2 separate regions of the Homo sapiens genome follow, and region 1 is linked to region 2. The links are contacts of gene promoters, found by promoter capture Hi-C in human tissues and cell types (Jung and others, 2019). All regions are on one chromosome and are shown on one strand. Each heading gives the region's core, a stretch centred on a gene start or on the middle of the fragment in contact. The rest is flanking DNA. Distances are from core to core; before and after follow the strand shown. Region 1 overlaps HDLBP (high density lipoprotein binding protein). Region 2 holds the start of D2HGDH (D-2-hydroxyglutarate dehydrogenase).

Evidence for each region. The method cuts DNA at HindIII sites, captures the fragments that hold promoters and counts their contacts. A contact is called where the count stands out against the background at its distance.
Region 1: a fragment that was not itself captured here is called in contact with the fragment with the promoter of D2HGDH in region 2 in 1 of the 25 tissues and cell types used here (lymphoblastoid cells).

Annotation. Positions count from the first base shown.
Region 1 is chr2:241,273,207-241,275,906 of GRCh38, reverse strand. All of the region lies in intron 1 of HDLBP (high density lipoprotein binding protein), which reads left to right. It overlaps HDLBP-AS1 (HDLBP antisense RNA 1), which reads right to left. Exons shown (of 2, transcript NR_168372.1): 1 at 2,223-2,700; 2 at 1-1,904. Among named protein-coding and RNA genes, the nearest start is that of HDLBP-AS1, 2.4 kb to the right of the region's middle. The HindIII fragment of the contact is 8,748 bases long and covers 1-2,700 here.
Region 2 is chr2:241,733,355-241,736,054 of GRCh38, reverse strand. D2HGDH (D-2-hydroxyglutarate dehydrogenase) reads right to left here and starts at 1,425. Exons shown (of 10, transcript NM_152783.5): 1 at 1,360-1,425; 2 at 539-922. The coding sequence starts at 830. RefSeq lists an enhancer at 359-598 and silencers at 639-748, 759-1,808, 1,849-1,898. The HindIII fragment of the contact is 17,644 bases long and covers 1-2,700 here.

The sequences.
Region 1 (2,700 bases), core at 123-2,622, 460 kb after region 2:
TTAGTAGGTCTGTCAGCAGGGATCTATTGGTAGTAGTTGCTTTATCTTTGAATATGTCTATTCTCATTCTTAAATGAAAAAGAATTCTTAAATCCAAATTGACAGTTATTTCTTTCGCCATAATTTATATATAGCCATTATCCTCTGGTATGTATTGTTTTAAGTGGTCTGCCTTTGGTCTCATAGTATTCTTTATGAGTAACCTGTCTTTTCTCTCTAGTTGCTTTTAAGGTCCTGCTCTTGTCTTTGGTGCTCTGAGGTTACTCTGTAGTGTGTTTTGATTTGGATTAGTTTAAATTATCCTGCTAGACACCTTCTCTGTCTTTTTTGGGATGAGGGAAGAATGTTGTATCATTAAATCTTAGAATTTTCTCAGCTATTTTAAAAAATGTTTCTTCTCTGTTCTTTGGATTTTTTCTTTTCTCTTTTTGTTTTGGAACTCCAGTTATAGACATATGTTAGAGTTTCTCATTCCATGGTTCTTAGCTCTTTCATTCGTTCCATCTCTCGATTTTTTTTCTAAAATGTCACCTTTATGTCTCTTATGCTTTTTTATTGTCTCAATCTTAGTTCTGTCTCCCGAAGTTCTTGAGTCTAATCCTACTTCTAATCCATCCTTCCTTCTTTTTGAGCTTTGGGCTTTTAGCCTCTCTACCATTTGTGCTGATCTGTGGGTATCCTTTTTAGCCTGGTATGAGGTTTATTCTTTCCTGAGGCGGGGTGGGGGGGAATTGCTTTCTGTTTTGTTAATATCTCAGTTTGGGCTAGGGGTTCCTGGACAAATGGGCTTGGTTGTAGAGTACTAGTCCATTGTCCCTACAGCTCAAGAGATGCTTCTGTCTGCCAGCTCAGGATAGTCAGAGAAGGCATCCTGTAGTCCCCTCTACACTAGTGGGCTTTTCTTCTTCTTTTTTTGATCTACCTATCTTCTGGTAAGTGTAGCCCTTTTGGGGATCATGACTTTATGGAATAGGAGGGTATCTCTTCTCACCTCCTACCTTGAGCAGACCCAAACTTCTCCCCCGTCCCTTTGAGGGCTGAAAACTCAAATGTCACAGACAGACGTTCACACTTCATTTGGTCTGAATATTGCTAGCCATGGAATTTCTAAAATTTGCTTCTACGAACTATTTATTAGTTTCAGTGTGCTAAGCCTGCTGGGAGGAAATGCTGGTTGTGAGCATCAGCACAGAAGCATTCTGGACGGTTATTAGCACAAAGTTAGCATATGATTTTGTAATCTCTTCTGCTAACAGTGTTTTTTAAACTAACTCTTTACGGTGTCCTGTGTACTAGGTACTGTGCCTGTGCTGACTTCCTAGCTTTATTGGAAGTTCCTTGACAGCGGACCGAATCCCTACCCGTTACTCTTTCTCCATCTCCCTCTGCAGTGCTGAGCCCTCAAAAACAAAACAGCAACAAAAAACACACTTGCACTAGTTGCTGATTGGTTAATCCCCACGGAAAGGTTACCAACAAACCACAGCAGTGACACAGAAGGGAATGCCTATTTCCACATCTAGGGAGGCCCACCTGCCCAGTTCCGTGCTGCTGACTTAGAGCACGGCTTTGCTGATGATATCCTTGGCTCCTTCTCTGCGTCAAGCCGCAGGTGTTCTCTGCCTTCTGTGATTCTGCTCCCCTCCCTAGGTGGTGTCATGAAGTGCATGGTATTTCTGCTGGCTCCTAGGCTTTTCCCCTGACCTTGCACATACAGTTGCCTGCTCCACTTCCCCACCTGCCCAGTCAGGGCATCACACCCCCTTATCCATCCAGTCTTCCTTGAATTTTACCCACCTCAGTGAGGGCAGCTCTTCCCAGTCACTCAGGCCAAGAACCTGTGTCTTTCTTAACTTCTTTTACACCCCTCTTCTGGTCAATAAGGAACTTCTTGGTGCTTCTTTCTGAATATATACCAAATCTGGCCATTTATTTCCTCCATTATGCCCACCATAATGCAAGCCATTGTCATCTTTAGACTGAACTATAGTAGGCCTCCCCTGCCCTCCCCTCCCCTGCCACTTAGTGTCAGTGTTCCACGAAAAAAAAAAAAACACGTCTGATCCTGCCTTCTGCTGCTTGCAGCCCCCACCCAGCTCCCACCATCCTCAACAGCACCCGTGGCCTGGCTGCAGGCTGTGCGGACCTGACCCCATTCCCTGGGTAAGGCTGGGTGTGCCCCTACCTCTTCCCCTGTGTGGGACGGTCTTGTCCCCAGATACCTGTAGTTGATCCTGTGCCCTATGCAGGATTCTGTTGACCTGCGACTTTGCCAGAGGTTCAGACTGACATCTCTACAGATTGCTCGACTCCCTTTATACCCTTAAAAGAAACAGTGGCAGTTATCACTTAGTAAACACAATGGATGCAGAAGTGACAAGTCCTTCCCGGAGGGTGGAGACCCCGAGAGTAGGGATTCCGTTCCGCCCAGTCCTGCGTATCCACCGTGGGCTCAGAGGCCACACACCGGTTCTTTTGCGTGTATACATCTATGTAGAGATGGAGCCATAAGTAATACACGCTTTAAAGGAAGGGGATTTTACATTTTGGGGGGGAGATTAAGTTGATTGCCAAGGAATCGGGTGGGGATAGTTTATAAAAGTGAGGGACATAAGGAATAGGCACGCAGGAATGAGGGAATGAAAGCCCTGGAGCCGCCTGGGAGCCTCACTGCGCTGTAGGACCTCGTGCCAGTGTGGC
Region 2 (2,700 bases), core at 176-2,675:
GCGGGGTGGCTCACGCCTGTAATCCCAGCAATTTGGGAAGCCGAGGCGGACGGATCACGAGGTCAAGAGATCGAGACCATCCTGGCCAACATGGTGAAACCCTGTCTCTACTAAAAATACAAAAATTAGCGGAACGTGGTGGCGGGCGCCTGTAGTCGCAGCTACTAGGGAGGCTGAGGCAGGCAAATCGCTTGAACCCGGGAGGCAGAGGTGGCAGTGAGCCGACGTCGCGCCACTGCACTCCGGCCTGGCGACAGAGTGAAACTCCGTGACTGCACTCCAGCCTGGCGACAGAGTGAGACTCCGTCTTAAAAAAAAGAAAAAACAAAACAACAACAACAACAAAACTTGGGTTGTTCTAAGCGACTCGTTCGTGGTCATTCATTCCAGCAGCCTGTGGCGGTGCACACGCCCCTCTCAGCGCAGCCAGGGGCTGGCACCCCCATCCAGGTTGTTCTCAGCCCGCTTTGAAGCCTCCACGGGAAGGCGCAGCGGAGCAGGGACGCGGAAACGCCGCAGCTTCCCAAGCCTCACCCACCTCGCAGCGTCCGCAACCAGTCCACGTTGGGAGCCTGCAGCGCTTCCGGGTCCGTGACGACCCCGCCGGGCACGATGCGCTCAAAGGCGGCCAGGTCCTGCTTAGACACCGTGGAGAACGGCAAGCGCCGCACGGGGTAGCGCTCCCGGGTCAGCGGCACCTCGGGGGTCCCCGGGGCGGAGCAGCAGCCTCTGCGGGCCAGGGGGCCAACCGGCCGACCCCAAGAACCCGCGGCTCCCGGAGCACCCCGCAACAGCCACGCGGGCCACGCCAGAGGCCGACGGGGCAGCATCGCCGCCGGGACGGAGACCTCGGGCTCCTCCTTGGTGGGGGGCCGGTACTCAGGGCCCGGAGGGGAAGGGCAGGGAGCCGCTGGCTGCGCGCCTGGAAGTGGCCAAGGGTAATTTCATGTTTTATGCACGTTGTACAAATTGAAACACGCTTGCAGAAGCAGGGAGGGGGCAGGAGGGCAGCGAAGGGAAGGCTCCGAGCACCCGGGCCCTCCCCCTGCCCGGGCCGCAACCCCGCGAGCGCGCGAAGCCCCACGCAGCAGGCCTGGACTTAGCGACGCGCAGGCTCGGGGCGGCCTCGCCGGGACCTTGCCCAGGACCCCGTTCCTCCGAGCTCGCCCCCCGAGGGGATCCCGCGGACGCGCGCGCGTGTTCCACGCGGTCACGTGACGAGCTGCAGCGCCGTCCCCCTCCCCCCACAGGCACCGACTGGCTGACGGCGCCCGAGATCGCGCCCCGCCACCCCGACCCGCGGCTGAACCGCAGACCGGGACCCTCAGCCCAGCGCTCCGCGCGGCCGCGCGCACGCACCCACGATCACGTCCCGAGCTCCAACCCGCAGCGCCCGCCGCAGGCCCAGAGCCGCCGAGCCGGAGTGGGCGGGGCGACGCCGCGCCTGCGCATTGACGGCTCCGCCCAGCGGCCGAAGCCCCGCCCCGCGCGCCTAACGGGCCCCGCCCCGCCTGCCCTCCAGGCCCAGCCCTGCGCGCCTACAGTCCCCGCCCCGCCGTCCAAGCCCCGCCCCGACTGGCACCGGAGGCTCGACGGCCACCGCCTCGTCCTGCGTTTCCTGAGGGCCTCCGGCGCGCCGGCTGTCGGGCGCATCCCTCCAGGTAGAGAAGGGACTAGGCTGAGCGCAGCCCAAGACGCCCAAGCAGCAGCTGGAGGGTTCTCCAGAACGAGGCCCGGGACGTGGGCTCGGCCGAGGGACCTGGGGGCCGGCCCGCTCCTCCGAGGCCGAGCCCAGGGGGCGCCCCTTTCCCCAGCGGCCTCCCCAGCTCCTGCACGGACCACCCCTCCTGGGTCCCCAGCCTTAGCTTAGGGGGCAGCTGCCTCCTGCAGGTGTTTTCTTGCCTCCCTGTCCCTTCTGCCTGTTCAGCCCTCCGTGCCCTCAAACCCTTTGCACACCTGGGGAGCTCCTGCCCTCCTGACGCAGTAACTGCTGTCCCGAGGAGCCTCCCGGCCTGGGATCCCCTGCCTGAGGCATCGCCAGCACTTGTTTTGTGTTTTTTTGAGACAGGGTCTAGCTCTGTTGCCCAGGCTGGAGTTCTGGGGTTGATCTCAGCTCACTGCAACCTCTGCCTCCCGAGCTCAAACCATCCTCCCACCTCGGCCACCCAAGTAGCTGGGACTACGGGCGTGCACCACCACACCCGGCTAATTTTTTGTTGTTGTTGTATTTTTGTAGAGATGAGGTCTCATGTGCTGCCCAGGCTGGTCTCGAACTCCTGGACTCAAGCGATCCGCCCGCGTCGGCCTCCCAAAGCACTTGTTACTTCAGCTCACCCAATTCCATAGAACCCTAGCGGGTGCAGAGGATGCCAATCTCTGAGCAGATGAGGGCAGAGAGCAGGAGACCACACTTGGCCCGAGGCAGGACTGCGGAGCTGTGCAAGAGGTGGAGGCTACGCCCGTGACAGCAGATGGGTCCTGGTAGTCACACAGAAAACCGGCGAGCTGGATTTGTCCTGGTGATGAGGCTCTGGAGCAGCAGTTGCAAGGAGTCATTCCTGTCCTCCTTAACCACATCCCCAGAGGCCACTCACCTTCTTCCCAGGTGAATCATTCATACAACCCTGGAAAGGAGACATCCACCTGGCCCTTCCTACCTGGCTGGCCCTTGCTCTGCAGATGAGTGTGGGAGTTTGCCCA